Linked DNA regions of Homo sapiens: regions 2, 3, 4, 5, 6 and 7 are each linked to region 1. Evidence: promoter capture Hi-C in 16 types of primary human blood cells and fetal thymus (Javierre and others, 2016). All regions are on one chromosome and are shown on one strand. Each heading gives the region's core, a stretch centred on a gene start or on the middle of the fragment in contact. The rest is flanking DNA. Distances are from core to core; before and after follow the strand shown.

Region 1 (3,211 bases), core at 338-2,837:
GAATCTGATCAGCAATGTTGAGATGTAGAGAATACCATCTGTGGTAGCATCAACAGAGAAAGCTATTATTAAGTGACTACTTAAGTTACATTCCCTTCTATAGGTAACAGATGAACATAATCTTATCTACCCAGAAATTTAATTCCAATCACTACATGCCATTTTGAAGAACATAAACGTAACCTACATAAAATGACTATATAAAGAACCCTTGCTTCCTTCTGAAAATGCTTCAAAATTCTAGATTAAATTCTCCCCCAAAGTATCATGCTCAGCATGTCATAAAGAAAGGTGCCTTTATTGTCAACTCTTGAAAATAAATGCTGCCCTACTTTTTTTTACTCTTGAATTTCAGTCTCAACAGATGGGCAATTCCAGTTTAAAAAAAAAGAAGAAGAAAAGAAAAACACACACACAATAATTAATGAAGTTCTTCAACAGTTCCCTAAAACCAACATCCTCCCAATAGCAAATTGTATTTCCAAGTTGTTCCAAGAAAGGGACACAGGAAAGGGAAGGGAAGAGTCTATACAAAGGAAAACAAAAATGAGTGACTTGAAAGAAAGGACATCAGAAAAATGGGTGGCCTCAACAGGAACCTATAGTGTCTGACTCTGCTGCTGTCTGTCGAATTTAATTCTACCACCTAAGAGTTTTGAGACGAGAACCACAATACTATTTCGGTGGTAGGAAAAACTATGCGTTGCCCCTGAATGGAGCTGCAACAGTAAAGGATGCCACCCTGCCAGGTAAGGACAGAATGAGGAGGAACTGTCAAACGGTTATGAAAGTCCCTTGCAAAACACACAAGCGGCTCTAACTGCCTTGCACCAGACAGACCCTCAAGTACAGGATCACGGGGCCTCCCCGCGATGTGACAGGGAAATAACGGGCGGCCTCGCGGTCCCCAGGCCTGGCTGCTATCCTCAGGGGTCGGCCTCCCCTCTCAGGTCTCAAGTCAAAGGTCACATCCTCTGAGATGCCCTCCCGGATCACCTAACCTAAAGAGCCTCGCCCCCATTCCTCTAGCCCGCAACTGCCTGTCCCGTTTCTAAGAAAGCATTTCCGTATCCGCAAAACATCGCAGCTGCGTGTGTTGTTTCCCTTCTACAGAGTGAGCTCTGCGGGGCAGGGGCCTCGCCTGCGCTGTTCACCCGGAGCCCCGCCTGACAGAACCGGCTTCCCGGTGAGGCCCGAGGCGGCGTTTGCGAGCTCGGCCGCGACACCACGCGCGTCCAGAACGTGGAGCTCAGATGGGGGCCGGCCTGGCCAGTCCAGGCATCCCCGGGGGCGCCTGCGGGGCCTGAACGAGACAAGGAAGGAGCGGACGCCCGCGCAGGCGGAAGCCACGCGGCGGAGCGCGGTCCCGCGGGGCGACCGAGGCTGACGGCGACTCCCGCACCCCGGTGGACCCACAGGCCGCCCGGAAGGCCCAGTGCCGGCCCCAGCCCCGGCCGCCCGCCTCCGCGCCCCCGGCTCGGCGCGCGAGTCCTCGAGCCGTGTCGCCTGCGGCCTCCCTACCCTAAGCCGCAGACCCGTCGCGTTCTGCCCAGTACGAACTTCCCGCCGCTTTCGCCGACTCGTAACTCGGCAGCGGCGCCGGCCCCTTCGCACCCTGCAGTATGGAGCCTTCCCATTGGCTCGGAGGCGACGAGGAGGGGCGGGACGAGTGGTAACGCGAGGCGCGGGGCGGAGGCTACGCTAGCCCCGCGCCTCCCCGGGAATGCCGGGAGCTGTGGTCCAGCGCTCCCAAGGCATCCTGGGAGTTGGAGTCTCTTAGCGGCAAAGGGAGATCCCCGTCCTTCTGCTCCCTGGTCTTCTAGGAAATGTGGTTTACAGCCTTGTTCGTAGTAGCTTGATTTATTAAGTGTATTGGCAGAGAGTTGGGTGTAAAATAAGTTTCCTGTTTCTGTTAGGATTAAATGAAATAATCTATAGGCAGTACTTTAAACTTAGTTGGTGCTCAATAAATAGCAGATAGTGTTAGTATTATTCTGCCCACTCATTGATATGTGTCTAAATCCTACCTGTTTTTCGAAGCCTATTTCAAAGCATATCTCAATGTCTACCTAATCATCTATAGTGTTTCATCTGTAATCAACGTATGCCACAGTTTGCATTGTGTTTATTATTTATTTTTATTTATTTATTTTTTTGAGACGGAGTCTCACTCTGTCGCCCAGGCTGGAGTACAGTGGCACAGTCTCGGCTCACTGCAAGCTCCGTCTCCCGGGTTCACGCCATTCTCCTGCCTCAGCCTCCCGAGTAGCTGGGACTACAGGCGCTCGCCATCACGCCCAGCTAATTTTTTTCTGTTTTTAGTAGAGACGGGGTTTCACCGTGTTAGCCAGGATGGTCTCGATCTCCTGACCTTGTGATCCGCCCGCCTTGGCCTCGCCAAGTGCTGGGATTACAGGCGTGAGCCACCGCGCCCGGCCGCATTGTGTTTATTATAATCAGCTAAGTCTCCATCACCCATGAGGCTGAGAGCTTATTGGGCACTGGGTCATTGTTCTAGGTCAAAATCACTGAAGTCACAGGCAGAGGGAGATTAACAATGAAGCCAATGAAGCGTAAGCTTCAGGACCTCACTTGCGCAGGTCCCTCAATGAGTTTACATAGCTTTGGGGGTTTATTTGTCGATTTTACTTTTCTTTTTCTTTTTTTTAAAGATATAGTCTCACTTTGTCACCCAGGCTGCAATGCATTGGCGCGATCTCGGTTCACTGCAGCCACGACCTCCTGGGCTCAAGCAATCCTCCCACCTCAACCCTCCGAGTAGCTGGGATTACACGCACAGGCCACCACTTCTGGCTAATTTTTGTATTTTTTGTAGAGACAGGGTTTGACCATGTTGCCCAGGCTGGTCTTGAACTCCTGAGCTCAAACAATCCACCCCGCCTCAGCCTCCCAAAGTGCTAGAATTACAGGCATGAGCCACCACACCCAGCTGATTTTTCTTAAAGTAGATCCCCCAAAATTATGTGAGCTTCAGTCCCTACAAAACCTGGAATCACTCTGTCCATTAGACAGGGCAATATTGTGCCTGATGTCTTACATTTTCCCCTCCAGATACCCTCATCTGCTCCAAATACTTCTCCTGCCTGCCCTCTGCCCCAGGAGGCTGACCTCTACAAATTACTTCGCGCTCCCTGTGCCCCCTGGCTTTGGGGCGTGCCCAGTGGAGAACCCCACAGAAGATTGGAGGAAA
Region 2 (3,211 bases), core at 206-2,705, 2.9 Mb before region 1:
AACCCAGGTCTGACCAGCTCCAAAGACCCCCTTGGAGAAGAAACAGTTTTTTTTCCTGTCTCCCTGGCACAGAAGTTGGGGGCTGGCAGATAGAAAGGACTCAATAATATTGTGTGGGATCACCCTCAGATATTCCCCAATACTGACCAGGCTGGGCACCACCACGCTAGGCTTCACCCCTCCAACCTCCCCACATGGCTGATCAGTCTGTTATTAACCGTATTATATAGGACAGCCGAGATGAAAGGGTGAAGTCATTTGCCCACAATTGCACAGCTGGTACCAGGGCTCCCCAAAGCCCATCTCAGCAAGGGATGGTTTGGTCATATAAATCTGCTGTGTTCACCAAATTGTAAAGAAGCCAGTGCAGTGTCATCCTGAAGCTCATTCCAAGGGGCCCATGACTTCCTGTCTCCTGTATGACTTTATTCCTACCAAGCTCAATGCAGCATCCCCAATGGGTGACAACAAAATCACGTTCTCCCAGGGAAAGGCGGAGAGTAAATAAACAAGTAAAGACAATGTCAGAGGGTGATAGGAGAAAAAGAGAACAGAGTACGGGGAAGAGGAAGGGCTGGGGATGAGTGTGTGGGTGTCCGTTTAAAACCCATTTATGCCTAGTGTTCCATTATTGGAACGCTAAGCTTGTGGAAGTTATTTATGTCCTACTGCTCAAGGTCAACACCAAGGTCTGATTTTTCAAATTCAAAAAATTGCAACCTCAGGCATAAATGGGTTAATGCAGGCAGGGCACGCAGTGTCCCTCTAAGAGGGTGGCTTGTGAGATGAGACCTGCAAGAAGCGGGGGAAGAGCCTTCCAAGCAATGGGAACAGCAGGTGCCAAGGTCCTGAGGTCAGAGTGTGCTTGGACAGTGAGGAAGCCAGTGTGGCTCGGGCAGAGTACTTGAGGGAAACAGAGTACAAGGTGGGTCACCAAGACTGGGGGCAGGTCATGTAGAGCCTTGTGGGCTGTGGTCCAGATTTTTGCTTTGACTTTGGTGAGCTGGGGTCCACTAGAGGGTTTTGAGCAGAGCAGAGATGGGATCTGACTTGGGTTTGAATGGATTGTTTTGCAGCAGTGCAGAGAGTAACCAGGGTAGGGGAGGAAGCAGGGACACTAGTGACAGGGAAGGACTGGGAGAGGTGACGAGGGCTCAGAACAGAGCAGGGCAGCGGAGGCAATGATAAGAAGAGGTCAGATTCTGAATGCTCTGTGAGGCGGAATACTGGAACGTGCCGTTTGGCTATGGGGGTGTGAGGATGACTCTGTGTTTTTGGCCTGGGCTGCTGGAAGAATGGATGGAGCGACCATCTACCAAGATGAGGAGGAGCTGGTTGGGGTGGCAGAGCCACCGTGCCCACCCCCTGCAATTTGCCAGGGCCGTCTCTGGCTCTGCCCACAGGAGATGAACCCACTTTGAGCAGCCCTCCACCAATGACCTCAGCCCCTCCACTTCTGGGGTAGCTCTGGGCATGTGCTCTACACAAGTCCCCAGGGTTCCCAGGGAATTGCACCTGTTTCCCCAAGAGGTAACTTGTTTTATTGGTTTGTTTACCTTCTTTATCCACTCTCCTCCTCCCACTGCTCAAACTGGGATCATCCCCCACCTCCTAAACTACTTACACTTCATTTCTTATCTCAGGATCAGCTTTGGGGGGACCAATCTCAGACAAGCAGATGAAATTAGGAGCTTGGCTTGGGACCGGTAAGGTTTGTGGTGGACTATTGAGCAGGAAGTTAGACACTCAGATCTGGAGCCCAGGGAAGGGCTGTAGGCTAGAGACATAAATTTGAGAGCCCACAGCAGAGAAGTGGTATTTCCAGCCCAGTGATTGGATGAGGCCACAAGGGAATGGATACAGACAGAGAAGAGGACCAAGAACTAAGCCATCACTGAGAAGTTGGGAGCATAGGGACAGCCAGCCAAGTGGACTGAGCGGGAGCACTGGGGAGGAGGGAAGAGAGCCAGGAGAGTTGGGTGAGAAGCCAGAGGAGGATGCGGGACAAGGCGGAGGGGGCATCGGCTCTGCCCAGGCTGCTGGGGGCCAGGTCAGACGAGGATCCAGGGCTGACGGCTGGGTGCGACAACATGGAGATCACCGGGAACCGAGCCCCCAGCAAGTTTGGTGGAGAGGTATGGGGCAGAGAGAACCAGAGGGGAGAAAAGGGAGGCCCAAAGGCAGGCAGTCAGCCAGGTGGGTTACCATAGGGGGCGGCAGCTACAGGGAACGAGAGGGTGAAGGGAAAGGTTTTGTTCCAAGCTTTGAATTCTTACATATTATATAAAAATGGGGATGATGCAGAAGAGGAGGAAAAGTGCTGATTTGGAGGTGGGGGTGCTCCTAGGACAGGGTTGCTGAGCAGAGGGGGCAGGTTGGCCTGGGCTACCCTCCCGGAACAGCTGGAAGGTGTGCGTGGGCCTGGGGCAGGAGGTGGGCAGCTGCTCAGTGGAGCCCAGGAAGGAAACTCTCACCGGCTGCTCCCTTTGCTCAGGGAAGTAGGAGGCAAGAATAAAAGCTGAGAGTGCGGATGGAGGGGGAGGTGATGGGGACTGAAGCAGGAAGGGAGAGTAGGCGAATAAACGCCCTGGGGAAGGAAGTACGGGGTGGCCGCCTGCCCGCAGTGGAGGCCCACGCCAGGTGAGTGGCCTTGAACTTGCAGGAAGATGGGCTGTGATCATCACACATGCCTGGATGTATTTCCAGAGTAATCTAGTGTCCTCATTGTCGCTTCCCAAAGCTCACATTCTGGGGGAATGTTCTCAGTTTTGAGTCACTTAAGTGAGGACAGAGTCTGAGCCCAGAGCTTCCACCCTAACCCCTGGGGTTCCCTGCCACATGGGAAGGAAGGTGAGTGCCATCTCAGGAAGACAGAGGGCACAGAGAGGGGTGGGGTCCTCATGGCCCACCAAGAAAGGGGAAAAAAAACCCATTCCTTCTGGCACCTGCAGGGGGCGCTGGGGAGGCGACAACAGAACAGGAAGACCCAGGTGTTAAAAACAAGCAGGTAAGGCTAACACCATGGCCAGACATGGGGACTTGTTGCTCAGCGCCCCGGCAGGCAGAAGCCCACTTGGCATGTCCCTGGTGATAGACTGGACACAGCAGAGCAGCCCTGGGAGAGAGGAGAGGCAATCCCCCACCGCCCACCACCCCACACCTCTCCAGCACATCCAGTTTCCTGCAACATCATGATTGGCTGAGTGGGGAC
Region 3 (3,211 bases), core at 450-2,949, 2.7 Mb before region 1:
TCAGAAATGAGGATTGTAACCTGACCTAAGACCTGTGCAGATGCTCTTCCCTGGGAGCTCAGGGTGGCATCCTCTGTGTAGCACCTGCCATGTGTTGAGGCCTAGGCTGTATGTCCTCAAGGAGCCTGTTACCTGAAGGGATGCTGGTATGTGAGCACGTCTTTTAGTACAGTGGGGCCCAGCAATAATGGGAGAACATACAAGGAATTGCAGAGGTGCAGAGAAGAGAAGATTGTGACTAGGGGGACCAGGTAGACTTTAAGGGGATTCCTGGACAGCATTTTTAGAGAGAACCAAGAGTTAGTGAATAAGTGACTAAAATATTACAGTCAAGGGGTGAACGGGGAGGCAGAGATAGGAGGTACATGATGACGTCTGTAGAGGGACTGGGAGCCCTTGGTGTTGCTGGGAGGGTGTTTTACATATTTTTGCTGGTTTCCTTTTATTCCAGGGTGACTGACCCTGTATATTTTACACTGATTTTTAGGAGACTTATTAGATTAACATGTTACACATTATTCTTTATACATTAGATACATAAGAGAAGATAGCAATGTTAGCCTGTTAAATAATGTGATTTCCTACTATTTAGGGTGGTGGCAGCGTGAGGGTAGATTTAAGCAGCAGGGACAGGCTTGGGCAGGGAGATGTACGAGACTAGTGTTAGGGTCTAACCATGAGGACTCGTTCAGGAGGTGCAGGAGGAAGTGGCTGGAGCTGCCTAGGTGTGGGCTGAGTGGCTGCTGGCAGGGTTGTGGCGGGGTGTGGGGCCATATCCCATGGTATTTGATCTGGAAGACCTGCTGCCATGTACTTTTTTTTTTTTTTTTTTAAATCTGTATTTAAACAGAGGCAGTGTGGTAGTGGTTCTGGGTTCAGATTCTAGCTGTACCTCTTACCTGATGCATGACCTTGGACAAAGAGAAGGGACTTAACCTTTCTGACAATGTCATCTGAAAGATGAGGATGGTATCTACTGCTTAAAGTGCGAGGAAGATCAAATGAAGAGCTCTGTCTTAGTCCAGCACCTGGCAGAGGGTAAATACTGAGCTCCAGGGAACAGCTGCTGTTACATCAATGAGCAACTGGAGTTGGGTGGATAGCTGAGAGAAGACTTTGGAGGAGGTGAGGGGCTGCAGGCAGAGCGAATAGAGCCTGTTTTGTAGCTGTTGGTGGGCACCCTGTGAGGGCCGGTGCAGAACAGCCCTGTCCCAGGCTCACTTACTGTTAAGAGAAGGGAAAGGGTCTTGGAGCTCCTCATCAAAGTGACGTTCTTGCCTCGTTTACAGGCTCCCACAGCAGAAGGTCTTTCAGGCAAGGCTGAAGGGAGAGGCCAGCTAAGCCATTGCTGACAGGATGCTTCTGCGTCTCCTCCTGCCAAGCCAGCAGACCCACTATATTTGGAAGTGTGATTAACGTCCTTATTACCAGACTCCTTGGTGGTTTTAGTTATTTTCAGGTCAAGTTCGATGGTCCTCCAGAGATGCCCTCCGCAGATATGGGAAGCCTGAAATGCCCAGAAGGGTGGAGGTGCTGTGTCCAGGCTGTGCCCTTGCTCTTGGCTGTGAGCCAGAACCATGGGGAGATTTTTTTCTCTTCTAAGAAGACATTTCTTAAGCATAGGAAAAGGTGCTTAAGCTGTCTGTCATCCTGCCCTCCCCTCACTTAAATTTTCTGCTTTTGATCACAGAAAAAAAATTCCTTGTATTGCTGCAAAAGTTTTATGTATTTTTACCAGTTTCCTTTTATTCCAGGATGACTGACACTGTGTATTTTACACTGATTTTTAGAAGACTTATTATATTAATGTGTTACACATTATTCTTTATACGTTAGATACATAAGAGAAGATACACACGTTAGCCTGTTAAATAATGTGATGTCCTACTGTTTTAGCACATGGCCATATTTGCATGGACTCAGTTACAGCAGAGTCAATGATCATCTGTATAGTGGGAGAATATGTTTTAAACCTTTGTCCTAGCATAGTTCTTCACATGGTGATAGTTACCACTTTTTGTAAAAAACAAATGGACCAAAGTCTGCTTTTTGATTCTCACTTGAGATAAAGTGTAACTGACTGGGGCTCCTGGAGGCCATCCTCGTGGTGGTTTGTTATTCATTAGCTTATGGATCGCCCTACCAGCTTCTTGGCTGGACACTTTTTCCATCTTCCTTGGTCATGATCTTAGCCCCTTGTCTCTGGAGAATCAAAGCCAGACTCCTCTGGCAGTGACTATCACCCTGTCTTGAGTGGCTGCCTCGCTAGGCTTCCCTAGAGACCCCCTCTCCAGCCGGGTTCCCTTCCTCACTGTGCTTCCCTCACGCTTCTAGTCCTGTCCCTGTCTTTGAATGCCCCCCCCCCCCCCCGCCATTCTTCACACATCCATGTCCCTTACTTTCTTTGAGACCTATTGTTAAAAGCACTTGCAAGCAAGCATTATCTCATAGGGTCTTTACCCAGGACACCATGGCGTGTCCTATACCACATGGTCTCATCTGCGTGTGAAAATATGCTCATCATTTCTCACATGCCCGCAGAGGACCCGTGTGTGGCACACTGGAACGCGACGGGAGACCTCGTTCAAGTCCCGGGTCTGCCATCAGCTTCCTGTGAAATCCCAGGCAAGGTGCTTGGGATTTCCCATGGAGCAAAATGCAGGAGTTAGACTAGCTCGCCAGAGTTTTTTCCAGCTCTAAAACGTCTTCAGCATTTGTCCAGAGAGTGTGATCAGTTGCTTATGATACAGTTATGGTTAATGGGAAATGATTATTTTAAGGCAAAGTGGGGAGAGAATATATAGGTCTTTATGCCCATATGTGTATGATGTATGCATGGGTTTTATCTCTCTAGTATCCTGGAATATGTTAGTCTGCACAGTGAAATCTATGTAATTAAAAAAAAATCTAGAGTAAAATTTGCTCTACTATAGTTTTTGTAGGTGAAAAAGAACGAACTTTTCTTCCAGAGACTACAAAGCAGATTTTTTTTTTTCCCATTTGAGAACCTCTAGATACTAATACTACACATTTCTTTTTCTGGAAGAAAACTTCATGTAAGGTAAGATCTTAGCCTCTGAAGACTAAGACACTGCCATGTGTTGGACATGTTTTATTACTTGATTTTGTTCTTTGGTAATGTAATTTTTTTCTCTTTTCTTTCTCTTCTCTGTAGTCAGAAAAATGGGTAAGAAGAGTCGAGTAAAAACTC
Region 4 (3,211 bases), core at 370-2,869, 2.6 Mb before region 1:
TGGCTACAGTTCCTAGCCTAATGTTTGGCACTTGATAAATGTCTGTTGAATAAATGTTCGTTGTTTGCAGGTCAGGTCAAAAGGTGTATTAAATACCCTGAGGAACAAGTAATTAATATAGCTGGAGTCTTTGGTGCTGGTGTCAGAAACCTTTGACTTTTTTCCCTATTTTAAAAACATGAAATTATTTTTGAATTTTAAGTCATATATACATGGAATAGAAAACACTAGAAAATATAAACTAGCATCAGGTAGAAAATTAAAGCTTCACATATTCTGTTTGACAGGGTTTCAGTGACCCAGAACCTCAAGTGGGCAGATCTGGATGGGCCAGAAACCTCAGTGTGAAATTCAGCTTCTCCCAGACTTCACTCCCATTGTGCATGTGTGTGTGCATATCTGTGCACCCAGGGCAGGGAGGGCTTTATTCAGAGAGCAGAGATCTTTCTTTACTCTTCTCCTCCTCAGTGGGAGCCAGTGCTAAACTTGGTTCCTGGATTCAACTCGAGTGAGCATAAGTCACCTGGGAAACTTACTGAAAACGCTGTTTCCTGGGCTTCCCTCTCTGGGCCCATCAGGCCCATCTTGAGCCATCAAGGCTGGGCTCACTCCCCCTCCCCTCTCGTTTAATGGCTGGGGGTAGTGACTGCTTGTCTTTGGACCCACTCCAGAATATCTTACCATTTCCTCTATACTTCACAGTTTTCATCTGTTTCAAAGAATGAAAACAGGTGTGTGGAATTGAGGAGACCAAAATAAATCCTTAAGCATATAAGGTAGGCCTTATGGAGGCCTTAAAATTACTTGATTTTCATAAGTAACTTTGGGACTTAAAAAGATTCAGATGGGTTTCTATATTGGATTTGCTTCTGTTCAAGACTCCTGGTGTTGAGGCACCTCTTCCTCACGTTTTAACTAGCCAGTGTCTGTCTGGAGTACAGAGCACATGTTTCAAAGAACTTGGATATATCCAAAACCCATAAATTTAGGACTGAAATAGGATGTTAGTTATCAGATGACTGAGTGAATGCTGAACATATATGGAAACAAAAGAGACAAGAAATGGTATAACCATATTAATGACAATCATGAAACAGACCAAATGCCTCGCACCCTAAGCAAAGTCTCTTACATCCCGTTTAAGAGAATCGGGGTGCTCTGTTTATGTTTAGATTTCTTGGCTTCTTTCCATTCCATCTCAGAGTTTCCCCTGCGTCTCACCAGTGCTCCTTTTCTTCACTTTTCTTTTCTTGTCCAGCCTGTGCCCTTGGTGGTGTGATGCCTCCTGTGTCTGTGTTCTGTCACTTACTTGCCCTCCCTTGTGTCTTTCTTTTTTCTTCATCCTTTTAAATCCTCTTCTTTTTTTCCTGCAAATATGTTTGGTTCCTGTGAACAGAACAGTTCAGTGCAGAAGGGCACTAACATTTACTGGGTTCCTGGATCATGGAGTGGAGATCCCATGGAGCAGAGGCACAGGCAGCACCCAGGGAGCATGCAGTGAGTGAGAAATGACTCCTGGAGACACCGTATTATGGCAGATTCCAGCCCATCTTGACTAATAGTCATATGTTTGTGTGAATTTTTTTGAGAAGTACACCCAGAAGTTCATAATTAAAATTTTTTTTTCTTTGCTGCTTAGAGGCTTAAAACACACATTTATTATCTCACAGTTTGTGTGGGTCAGAAAGGCAGGCATGGCTTAGTTGGGCTGTCTGCTGCAGGGTCTCTCTCAAAGCTGCAGTTAGGGTGTGGTCTCATCTGAAGGTGTGACTGGGGAAGGGTGCCTTCCATGCCCACTCCTGTGATTGGCAGCAGGCTTCAGTTCATCAGTGCCTGGGTTTCTTGCTGGCAGTTGCTAGAGGCCACCCTCAGTTCCTTGCCACATCAGGCCCATAGATTTTATCAGATTCTCAAACTTCACCTACCCCCTCCCCACATTTTCTCACTTCCTCCATCACTTGTTTTGTTTTTCTTTCTTTTTTCTTGAGACGGGGACTTACTCTGTCACCCAGGCTGAGTGCAGTGGCATGATCTCGGCTTACTGCAAACTCCACCTCCTTGGCTCAAACAATCCTCCCACCTCAGCTTTCCGAGTTGGTGGGACTACAGGTGTGTGCCACCACACCTAGCTAATGTTTGTATTTTTTGGTAGTGATGGAGTTTTGCCCTGCTGCCCAGGCTGATCTCGAATTCCTCACCTCAAGTGATCTGCCCTCCTGGGCCTCCCAAAATGCTAGGATTACAGGTGTGAGCCACTGCACCCAACCCCTCCACCACTTGTTTTGATTCATCCTTTGGCAGATTACTTTTCCTAAATGCTGAAGACCAGGGGGTGCTCAGTGTCTACAAAGTCCTTGTTCCTGGATGGATACTAACTTACTGACACCTCTCAAGTGCCAGCAAACTCTGGTAGCAGGGATTGTCTTCATTTTACATGTGAAGTAACAGACCAGATGGGTAGCACTGCTTGGGGCCACATAGCTAATACTCTAATGCTCCTGCCGTGGGCACTGTGCCACCCTCTGCAGGGCCTCATGTGTTGGGACTGCACTGGCATTGCACCTTTTCATCCCTCTGTGTGCCAATCGATTCTGCAAACCCCAGCTGCTCAGCTTCCCTTAACAAGCCCTCCTTTCCCTGCCTCTGCCATTTCCGGTACTCTCTGTCTGGGATGTCTCCCTTCCCACATGGAAAATCCTGCCCATCTTTAGAGACTTAACTCGCATGCCACCTCCTCTGTGAGTCATTGCCAGATCCCCCTCTTCCCGACAGTGACTGCAGCTTCTTTTCTGAATTCCAGCACGTGTCATGTATCCTGGTGTGACACGTCACAGTTTGCCTGTCTGGGCTCCCTGCTCCAAAGTCGTTGGCTCCTTAAAAGCAGGGAACTCATCTTGCTCATTGTCCCCCCACAATGCCTTGCACGCAGCAGACACACAGTGCAGGTTTGGGGAGTTGACGGACGAAGCTTTGCTGGGAAGCTTTAAGATGAGATTAAAGTGGCTCTGAAGCTGCAGAAATGTGCATTAGTACATCAAGGATAAAATTATACCACTTTATGCCTTGGCCTCCTTTATCGTTTTCTATAAAATAATAGCTATTTTACTTTGATAACTTTTGAGATTAAGCAAAATCTTTCTTGAAAGTTTAACACCTGTTCCTTTTCCTACTTTTTTGCAGATATAGTTCATCCTACAGTTTTCACACTTAC
Region 5 (3,211 bases), core at 461-2,960, 2.6 Mb before region 1:
AGGGGCTGGATGAACACCTAGGCTAGAGATTCTGGTGAATATAAACTAATTTCCTAGCCACTCAGAGAAATAAATGTAGGAAGGGTTATAAGGTGTGGTACTAAGCTGGAAGAAACAACACATCTTTATATCTTGCATGATTTGTTCAAACTTAATGTAAGCAGCAGGTTTCCTTTGTTGAGGATTTTTCGGTTGATATGACAAGGATACTTCTAAGTGACTGTTAGACAGTGGTATTAGTTCCCATACAGAGAGTATGTTGGAATAATCAGTGCTTGCATTTGAATCTGCGACTCTACCAGGTGGGATGAAAGGGCAGCTGGAAATTCAGGCACAACGGAGGGAAGTTCTTTTTCAGGGTCCTTCTGTTTGTGTATTGAAAAAAAAATCTAAAACATTTATATTTAGATGAGTCTTACAGTCTCAAAAGCCCATTTTTACAATAGCAGACAAGTCTCTCCGAACAACCTGTCCCCCCACACCCTCCGTGCACACAGGTCTGACTCACCTCTGGTTCCCTGCTATTCTTCAGACACCAGAAGATTCCTTCGCTCTTGCTGTCGCCTCTGCCTAAGACCCTCCATTCCTTAGGCACTTACGGGACTCACTCATAGACCTCCTCCAGCGTGGCTGCCCTGAGCACCCTATGTGGAATGACTACGCCTCCAGCTCATCCGCCCTCCTGCCCTGTCCTGTTACATTTCCCTCTATTGTCCAGATCCGCTTGTTTCTGCCTTTTTAAAAAATTATTGTTGGTTCACCCCCCCGCCTCCCATTAGAATGGAAGATCCATGAACGCAGGGTGATTTTGGGGGAGGGTCTGTTTTGCTCATTGCTATATCGCTGTGGTTTTTAATGAATTCATGACCGGTAAATAAATGACTGTAAAAGCCCCATGCCTAGGAAAAAAGATCAGAAAGAAATAAACCAAAATGTTAACGTGATTGTGATCTTTTTTCTTTGTTTTTTAAAAAATATTTTCCAAATTTTATTTGATGAGCCTGTATTACTTTATCCTCCCCCCCCCCATGAAATCAATATAATACATATTTGTGGAAGAAAATTTGAAAAACACAGAGAAGAAAATGTAAATGGTCCTCACTCTGTTTCCATCTTAGGGATGTGTGTGTATGTATATCGTGCTCTTCCTCCTATGTTACTTTTAATATGTAAACGAAACTAGAATACAGCTGTGCACCAAGTGTGCCATTGAGTTACCAAGCCAGCCACAGATGTGAGTGGTGTGCGCTGCAGGCAGGTGGTGGCTTTCAGGGAGCAGGGCTCCATGGAGCTGCTGGAGGCTTCCACTCCCTGCTGGGTTCCTCCTCCAGCATTGCCAACAAACTCCGGCTGCCACCCGCTCCCCTCCCCTGGGCACACTTGAGACTCCTGTGGGGCTATTCTCAGTTCCACTTGCTTTTATATATACGTATATATATAAATTTTTTTCTCCCTGTGTCTTTTCCACTAGATGTCCCTATGGGTAGGGACTGAGACTTTTCATGCCATTTTCCAAGTGCCTCGCTTAGGGCCTGGCATAGTATGGCACTCAGTATTGTAGAAGGGAAGTTAGCTGGCAGTGTGGGAGGCAGGAAGCGGCACGTGGAGCTGGGCGAGGAGGAGGTGGAAGGACCCTGTCCTTGCTTGACATCGGGTGGCTGCCCCTGGACCAGCCCTGGCCTTCCCAACCCCTCCTCTCCTAGTCTGGGCTTCAAGTCAGACCTGGTCAGCGTCTGCAGATTTCTGGGCGTAGGTGGTAATTTCCTGGGGCTCCTGCCAGAAGGCCCTTGCTGAGCAGTGGGGTCCTTACAGCCTTGGAAGGCCCCTCTGCAGGCCCACCCTGGGAGGGCTCTGCTCTGAGAGAGTCCTCTAGAAACCTGGCTTCAGGCAAGGGAGGGGCGAGGCCTGTGCTTCCGCCTGCACTTCTTTGCACTGAGACACACTTGATACCGTCCTAGAGGAAGTGTTTGGCAGTGCCACACAAAGAAGTTAGACACTCAGCCTCCAAACATTCTGACCCTTGCTGAGAAAGGGCTGCAGACCGGGGCAGGATCCCAGCCTGTTTGCCTGTCCGGGTTGCTGTGGACATGTTAAACTATTTCTTGAGCTTGACGTTTGCTGAGAGTGGGAAATATCTGTAAAATACCCTTAAACACCCATAATCCTTTCTCCACAATCTCCCTAAATTTTCTCTTCCTTCCTCTAACCTCCCTCCTGTTTGTGCTGCTGGCAGGTCCCTGTGTACCTGTACTGCCAGCACCCTGGGAGTGCCTGGACTCCCTCCTGGGAGTTCATGATATGGGCAGCTTCTCATTCCACTTTGTTGTCAAGGTGATGTTTTGGGGTCAGAAAAGTACATCCGATGTTGGGCAGGAACTTCATGGAGTTGATTTTCATTCAATTGAAGTGTTTAAAATGTTCTGCGAGTGAAATGTTCTAGAATACTTGGCTTCATTTATTTCTCATTGCTGCATATTTATCACTGGTCTTTGCAGATCAGAAGCATGAAGGAAATTTAGACATATGGTTAATAAACCATATTTATTCTTGGGATATTGAGTTTAAAGATTAGTGTTACATGGCCTTCCATCCCAAAATGCCATTCCCTAGACTCAGAAGTCATCTTTTGAATCCAAGCTATTGATACCTTATTAGCAAGGAGCACTTGTAGCTGCTGTGAATCTTTGATTCTCCAGGATAAAATGAGTAGGTCAAAAAGTAATCAGTGACCATCGACAGACAACCTAAGAGATTGGGCGCTGCTCTAAAAGACAGGACTCTGAGAAGGAGGTTTTAATAGAAGCTGGGGACCCTTTCCTTTCCCCTGCGGGTTCATGCATCACGTGAATATTCTCAAAGACCACTTCAGGTTTTAGGTTCTGTGTGCTGAGCACTCGGGACACAGAGATCAACAAGGGGCTCCAGCTTCCAAGTGTGACCGACGGGGAGGCAGGTGCACAGATAACGTGACTTGGGCTGGAGCGCATAAGGACTGGGCTGTGGGAGTGCACAGGAGGGCAGGGTAAGGAGGGGCTTCCCTGAGAAGCCAGGCCACAACAGGAGTAGAAGGTAGTGTCAGGCAGGAGGGAACTGGGATGGCAGGTGGGTGGCAGTTCCTGAAGCTGGAGGGAAGCGTGAGCCGCCTCCTTATTCGGCCGTGCTCAGGAACTTGGGGTTTATTCCGAAGGCAGAGCGGAATCATAGGAAGATT
Region 6 (3,211 bases), core at 486-2,985, 2.5 Mb before region 1:
CTGGAGGATGTGGCAACAAGGCACCATCTTGGCAGCAAAGGCTGGGGCCCTCACCAGACACTGAACCTTCTGACGCCTTCATCTTGGACTTGCCAACCTCCAGAAATGTGAGAAATCAACGTCTATTCTTTTTTTTTTTTTTTTTTTTTTTTTGAGATGGAGTCTCACTCTGTCACCCAGGCTGGAGTAAAATGGCGTGATCTCGGCTCACTGTAACCTCCGCCTCCCAAGCTCAAGCGATTCTCCTGTTTCAGCATCCTGAGTAGCTGGGATTACAGGCACCTACCATCATGCCTGGCTAATTTTTGTATTTTTGTAGAGATGGGGTTTCACCATGTTGGCCAGGCTGGTCTTGAACTCCTGACCTCAGGTGATCTGCCCGCCTTGGCCTCCCAAAGTGCTGGGATTACAGGCATGAGCCACTGCGCCCGGCAATATCTATTCTGTATACATTACGCGGTCTCAGGTATTTTGTTACAGCAGCGCTGAGACAAGATGCTTCATCAATATTAGTCGATTATGTACCAGTGAAATCTGGGGGAAATTTCCCATTTCATTCCTGAAATATTGACGTGTGTACCTTAGACTGAGTTGAATGTGAATCTCTTGTTTCATGAGTAAAACGCCTCCATAATAATATCTATCATTTATTCAATGCCTCCTCTGTGCCAGGCCTGTGCTGGGGGCTTTCTGAGAGGTCATCTGATGAGATGCTCACAGAGGCGTTGATAGAGGAGGACCTGGGATGTCGAGAAGAGAAACCGCATGAAGGCTTTTGCAGCTAGCAGCGGGCGCAGCGGAGACTTGACCCTGGCGATCTCGGAGGCGTATATCAAGCTGTGTGTGCCCTGTCCTGCTTTTCTCACAGGCTGCTGGGAGGACAAACTCAAGTCAGGGAAGCAAAAGGGCTTTGTACACTAAAACTCTGTCCCAACATGAGTTGTTTGTCTGTTTCAAATTTTACCAGCAGAAACGTCTGTCTTACCCCACTCTCTCCACCCCATTTCTCTCTGCCTCAATTATCTGGTTTCATAACCGTGGTGTGTCTTGTTGGATTTTGCTGTCTCAAACAAACAAACAAACAAACAAAATCTCTTCTACTAACTGAGTATACTGTGTCCTTAATGCAAACTTTGTTTCTCTGTAATTCTCTTCCTTCCTCCATGTCTCGATCCAGCACTGACTTTGTCTTTGCTGTTCTGGTTCCACATCTGGTGATGTTTTCAGCTGCCTGTTATTGGCTTGCAGGATGGCTGGAAATCCAACCTGGGTATAGGACGGCATAGTGGTTATACACAGAGACAGACCTGGGGTGATTTGGGCTCTACCTCGTGGTGGCTGACTTCGGGTTTCCTGTCTAAGGGGGATGAAAGTCTTTCTCTTCTGAGGATTAGATAAGATAAATGCCTCACAATGTAATTAGACAGAGTGTCTCTTTGAATGAGTAGGTCTTGAGGGTCTTGGAAGAATTCTGCAATCTGTGCTCAGGACCCCTGAGCCCTGCTGCTTTGCTCCCATGGCACTTGGGACACATGGCCATGAGTCCATGTGATGGGCTGTACTCTCACTACTATAATTGCTGAACTATGTCATCAACTTTTGTTTTCCCTTGCTCTGTTCTTTGGAGCTGGGGTGGTGTGTCAGATTCAGGCTTGCCTGAACTTGGAACCTCAGTACCACCACCTCACAATATTGCCATCTTTGGGCCCTGTCCCCCATGGTGTGCTTGGCATACAGCAGGCGTCCCATCCGCGTGTGTTGTTGAAGGAACAAATCACAGCCATGCTTATGATGCGACTGCTGCATGGCGAGAGACCGGGCCAGGCGCTTTGCTAAGACCCACTCATCACCGCTTATACAGAGCGGTGAAGCCCATCTGACAGGGAGACCACAGAGCCTGAGAAATGAATGCCCTTTCCCCAGCCGACTCAGCCAAAGCCTGAGCTTCCAGATGGGCACCCTGGCAGCATGTAGCAGGCCAGGGTTTGCAGGGCAGGGGAGCCATTCTACTTCAAGGCAGCAGGCAGCCCTCATGGCTGGTGGGGAGGCTACTGACAGTCACTAGCTGTGACTACTAGCAGGCAGGTTTTAGGGAATGACGCCTCGATTTTTCACTTTGAGGAAACCCTTGATGTGCACCGTGGCAGTGGCAGAGGCTAATCGCGTGGATCTGGGAGCTAATGCAGCTGCTGTAATTCCTGTCACCTTCTCACAGCTCAGTGGGAGCTTCCGATGAATAAATCGTGGCATTCAGGGGCTGCATACATCAGTGGCAGGTGTCACCGTCATAGGTCGGGCAGGGCACTGGTGCTCCACCTTGCCTTGTCTTTAATTAAAGGAGGAAATATGTCAGAACTGACAGGACCACTGACCAGCCTACCAGGTCCTTTCCAGTCGCAGTGAAATCAACCGTTAAAGATGCTCATCTCAAGAGGAGAACGAGTCTCTTATGCTTCTGGGGAGAAATCACCATCTGGCGAGGGTTTCCTGGCCTTTGGGGGTCCCCCTGCTACCTCCTCTGAGCCATCTGGGGCTCCCCTGCATTTGCCCCTTACTTGGGAACTGTAACCCTTAGGGATCAGAGGGAGCATGGGAACAAAACAATTCAATAAAGTCACAATAAAGCATCCAAAGCCCTTCATACTTTTTCACTTTCTTTAACTCAATTTATTTTTCATTTTGTGGACAGAGATTTAGTCTGGGTATTAGTTTATGATTTTTACTGAAGGAATTACTCAACACACACACATATAAAAAGGAAATATTATTTTTATCATTTATTTTGTGCCATGTATACCATAGGAGAAAAAAACGGAGCGAAATCACTTCAGTACCGCTGTGTTTTTCATTACAAAGTTATTACATATAGAAATTACTCCAAATTATCTGAAATGAATGGAAATTATGAGGTTTAAATTCCCCAGGTTACTGCAGGCACAGCTCTGGAAATTTATTTTGTCATCTTGCTGAACATAATTGCTACAACAAAATTTCTTCCATTTTACAACTGCAGCATAACTTATTTATACCGGTGTAGCTGTAATTTTACATCAATAAGTTGCATGGGAAGGAATACACAGGTGGTAATTGAAAACAATAATTTGTACTGAGGTCCAGGTGGAACGGTTGGCTCAGAAAAAGGCTCCAGTTATTATCGGCAACAGCTTTGTGTCACTGCGGCCTCTTCTCATCCCCTTAGCCAACACTGGTC
Region 7 (3,211 bases), core at 502-3,001, 2.5 Mb before region 1:
GCCCCATCACTCACTGCTGGCCACCTGTGTGAGTCACTTCACTTTTCTTGGCCTCCGTTTCCTCGTCTGCACCTCCTTTTTGGGTTATGCTGAGGATGAAATGAGGAAGCACCCACCTGGCACCGGTTGGGCCTGAGGCAGATGATCAAGAAGTGGATGCTTCTAGAAAGCCAAACACAGGAAAGTGTGGACCCTGCTTGGCAGCATGCCGAGTACGTGTTTTTCTTGGTCAAAACCATGATCACTTACCTGGGATCTCTCTCACGGTGATTTCCTACAGGTTCCTCCATATAATTCTCACTTGATAGTCACTGAAGGGGAGGCGCTTGATCACCAGGAATTTGGTTTTGCCTGTTTTCAGCCCTTCCATAACCAAATGAAGCTACAGAGGGAGGAATTAACTATCAGCTGTCACTCATAGGCCTGCCTCCGTAACCCTCCAAGTCCTGAATGTCAGTTTTCTGGAGAAGTGCGGAGACAGGCAGCAGGTGACAGGAGGTGGCAGATCCCTCTGGGCTTGGAGGTGGCAGGCAGCCCTGGCTGCGATGTCCCTGCCCACTTGATATGTCTTCATCCACAACCTAGGGAGGACGCGGGATCTACCTGGGAGATTCTCTTAGCAGGTGGGGCACAGATAAGGGTTTGGTTTGGGGCCCCAGTGACCCATTGCTAAGCAAAATGTGTGAGAGAAAAGGACTTCTGACGAGCCCAGGGATTTACGTGCTGCTTTGGGAATGTTCTCTCCAGACTTTTAAAAATAAATAAAATAAACGTGAAAAAAAATATTAGCTTGGCTAGTGAGAGAAACTAAATAACTTGCTTGTGCTGGAAACTGGAGATAAACCCCACTCGCAGGTTGCCTTAAAAAACTTGCACTTGATCTATTTAGAGTTGTTATTTTCCCTTCAAATTAAGATGCGTTAAATCCATGTGTGTTGTGGCATGGATTATCTTTTTTTATTATTAAATCATGACAGCTAATTATTAGTTCTGTCTGCACCGAGGAATAGTGCAGTGTTCTGTCTGAGGGACATGGCCCTGGGCTCAGGCTGGGGTTTGGGTGTTGGGATGGCTGAACAGGGCAGAGTTTGGGCTGGGCTGGTGGGTGGTGGGGAAGAGGGGCGCTACCTGGTATTCCTCATTGTGCTAGATGCTTTTCTTGGGTTATCTCACTTAATTCTTCAACCTTGAAATATATATTTCTAACCCTACTTTGAACTGGGGCTCAGAGAGGTTAAGGGAGTTGCTGAAGGTCACACAGCAAAGCAGAGTCAGACTCAGTCAGGCCTAGTTTCCTTGGATAGCAAGGGGTGTGGAGGATTTTGGGGATGGGTATTCTAACTCTGTCTGTCTGGCTGGTGGGGCCTTGATGGCGGGCACCACCTCTGACCCCATCCAAAATGGTCTTTGAAGCCCATCCCAGATATGACCCTGTGGATACAGCCAGAAGTCCTCAGACCCCCAGGGACCATGGCCTTCAGTCTGTGGCTTTTGTATATACTGTCCTGTACTTCCTAATGAGGGCATTGGAGAGATGGGTGGTGACAAAGAATGAAGTACACTGTAAATTCAGGTGCACCTGGGCCAGAATTTTAGATTTTTTCCCATACATATGATTATTTCTTTTATTTTATATTCACTGTTGCATAGACTTTTCCCCCATAAATACAAATTATTTGTTTTATTTTGTGGAATTGTGGTTTTGCCAGGGTCTTGCTATGTGACTGTCAGCCAACTGTTTGCCTCCCCAGGTCTCGGTACCTATAACTGGAGATAATGTTCCTTGTGTTTTGGGCTTGTTATAAGGTTTGATTCAGACAAGGTATACATAGAACAGGTTCCTGTGGGTTTTAGCTGTTGTTGATAATGGAGATCCTGCCGGTGGGATCCAGAGGAAGGGTCTGGCTTCCTAGCCTCCTGGAAGGACCTTGCTGCCAACTCTTCCCTTCTCACCTGCTCAGTGACTTGTCTGAACTTACATAACTAGTTACTGGCAGAGCTGAGTCCAGACCCCAATTATCTCGAGTCAGGACAGGTGACTTTTTGCCATCCCAGGGTGCCCACCCCTGTAGCTTGAGGCCATCTCCCCTGGTGGAGTCCCAGTTTCCTCAGCTGAGAAAGGGGGTGAGCCCTTCCTGTCCCACTGGCCTTCCAGGGAGGCGGTGGACCCACCTGCCATGTGAACTGTGCAAACCAGAGTCAAGAGTGTGTGCCGCTAACATGGTGACATCAGCACCGATTGTAGTTGAAAGTTTTATTGGATTAAAAAAAAGACAGACAATACTGGTCACATAAATGGGTGTTTTTTTTTTCTCTTAAGGTTTGAGGCCTTATTTATTGTTTTATGTACGTAGTTCCATACTTCCAGCAGTAATTCAGGAAACAGGAGAGAGAGATAAGGTAAGAAAAAGAGAGAAAGGCAGCTGGGCTCCCAAGGGGTGAACTTAACCAACATTCAGCCTGAGTTAATATTATTATTCTTAGTTTGTCTATTTGACAGTAAATAGTTAGTATTGACTAAAGTTTTTTTAATCAGGCATTTGACAGCTTTTTTGAGTGGTTGTTGCTCATTTGCATGCTTGGCTAATGAATTAACCACCAGGTCTAGAATCTGTTAGGAGTGGGCTCTGCTGATAATCTATAGAAATAAGGCTGACTGGCTGTCACCCTGTGCCTTTGGGGTCATCTTTTCACTGAGGAAACAAAGAGATGGAGTTTTTCCTAATTTCATGTAAAATTTATTTATTTATTTTTGAGACAGAGTCTCGCTGTCGCCCAGGCTGGAGTGCAAGGGCGCGATCTCAGCTCACCAAAACCTCTGCCTCCTAGGTTCAAGAGATTCTCCTGCTGGGCACGGGGGCTCACGCCTGTAATCTCAGGACTTTGGGAGGCCGAGGCGGGGGGATCATGAGGTCAGGTGATCGAGACCATCCTGGCTAACACGGTGAAACTCCGTCTCGACTAAAAATACAAAAAATTAGCTGGGCATGGTGGCGGGTGCCTGTAGTCCCAGCTACTCAGGAGGCTGAGGCAGGAGAATGGTGTGAACCCAGGAGGTGGAGCTTGCAGTGAGCCGAGATCATGCCACTGTACTCCAGCCTGGGCGACAGAAGGAGATTCCATCTCAAAAAAAAAAAAAAAAAAAAGATTCTCCTGTCTCAGCCTCCTGAGTAGTTGGGATTACAGGCGCCTGCCTGGCTAATTTTTGTAG

The links. The method cuts DNA at HindIII sites, captures the fragments that hold promoters and counts their contacts. A CHiCAGO score of 5 or more calls a contact.
Region 2: a contact is called between a fragment that was not itself captured here and the fragment with the promoter of VRK1 in region 1, in 1 of 17 cell types (activated CD4 T cells). The highest score is 5.7, in activated CD4 T cells.
Region 3: a contact is called between a fragment that was not itself captured here and the fragment with the promoter of VRK1 in region 1, in 1 of 17 cell types (naive CD8 T cells). The highest score is 6.2, in naive CD8 T cells.
Region 4: a fragment that was not itself captured here is called in contact with the fragment with the promoter of VRK1 in region 1 in 5 of 17 cell types (total CD4 T cells, total CD8 T cells, naive CD4 T cells and 2 more); the score reaches 8.1 in total CD4 T cells.
Region 5: a fragment that was not itself captured here is called in contact with the fragment with the promoter of VRK1 in region 1 in 7 of 17 cell types (non-activated CD4 T cells, fetal thymus, total CD4 T cells and 4 more); the score reaches 9.1 in non-activated CD4 T cells.
Region 6: a fragment that was not itself captured here is called in contact with the fragment with the promoter of VRK1 in region 1 in 7 of 17 cell types (endothelial precursors, naive CD8 T cells, fetal thymus and 4 more); the score reaches 11.6 in endothelial precursors.
Region 7: a fragment that was not itself captured here is called in contact with the fragment with the promoter of VRK1 in region 1 in 1 of 17 cell types (endothelial precursors); the score reaches 5.2 in endothelial precursors.

Annotation. Positions count from the first base shown.
Region 1 is chr14:96,795,758-96,798,968 of GRCh38, reverse strand. VRK1 (VRK serine/threonine kinase 1) reads right to left here and starts at 1,587. Exons shown (of 13, transcript NM_003384.3): 1 at 1,522-1,587. RefSeq lists an enhancer at 730-1,261 and silencers at 1,206-1,495, 1,506-1,705. The HindIII fragment of the contact is 2,825 bases long and covers 1-2,580 here.
Region 2 is chr14:99,687,701-99,690,911 of GRCh38, reverse strand. All of the region lies in intron 1 of CYP46A1 (cytochrome P450 family 46 subfamily A member 1), which reads right to left. Among named protein-coding and RNA genes, the nearest start is that of CYP46A1, 5.0 kb to the right of the region's middle. The HindIII fragment of the contact is 1,618 bases long and covers 647-2,264 here.
Region 3 is chr14:99,465,778-99,468,988 of GRCh38, reverse strand. SETD3 (SET domain containing 3, actin N3(tau)-histidine methyltransferase) reads left to right here. Exons shown (of 13, transcript NM_032233.3): 2 at 3,176-3,211. The coding sequence starts at 3,184. Among named protein-coding and RNA genes, the nearest start is that of SETD3, 13 kb to the left of the region's middle. The HindIII fragment of the contact is 3,398 bases long and covers 1-3,211 here.
Region 4 is chr14:99,427,419-99,430,629 of GRCh38, reverse strand. All of the region lies in intron 6 of SETD3 (SET domain containing 3, actin N3(tau)-histidine methyltransferase), which reads left to right. Among named protein-coding and RNA genes, the nearest start is that of SETD3, 52 kb to the left of the region's middle. The HindIII fragment of the contact is 2,703 bases long and covers 268-2,970 here.
Region 5 is chr14:99,407,537-99,410,747 of GRCh38, reverse strand. The region is part of intron 8 of SETD3 (SET domain containing 3, actin N3(tau)-histidine methyltransferase); the gene reads left to right. Among named protein-coding and RNA genes, the nearest start is that of SETD3, 72 kb to the left of the region's middle. RefSeq lists an enhancer at 1,762-2,328. The HindIII fragment of the contact is 4,765 bases long and covers 1-3,211 here.
Region 6 is chr14:99,279,199-99,282,409 of GRCh38, reverse strand. LOC105370660 (a long non-coding RNA gene) reads left to right here. Exons shown (of 3, transcript XR_001750881.2): 3 at 673-2,399. Among named protein-coding and RNA genes, the nearest start is that of BCL11B, 8.6 kb to the right of the region's middle. The HindIII fragment of the contact is 8,266 bases long and covers 1-3,211 here.
Region 7 is chr14:99,249,969-99,253,179 of GRCh38, reverse strand. The region is part of intron 2 of BCL11B (BCL11 transcription factor B); the gene reads left to right. Among named protein-coding and RNA genes, the nearest start is that of BCL11B, 21 kb to the left of the region's middle. The HindIII fragment of the contact is 5,573 bases long and covers 1-3,211 here.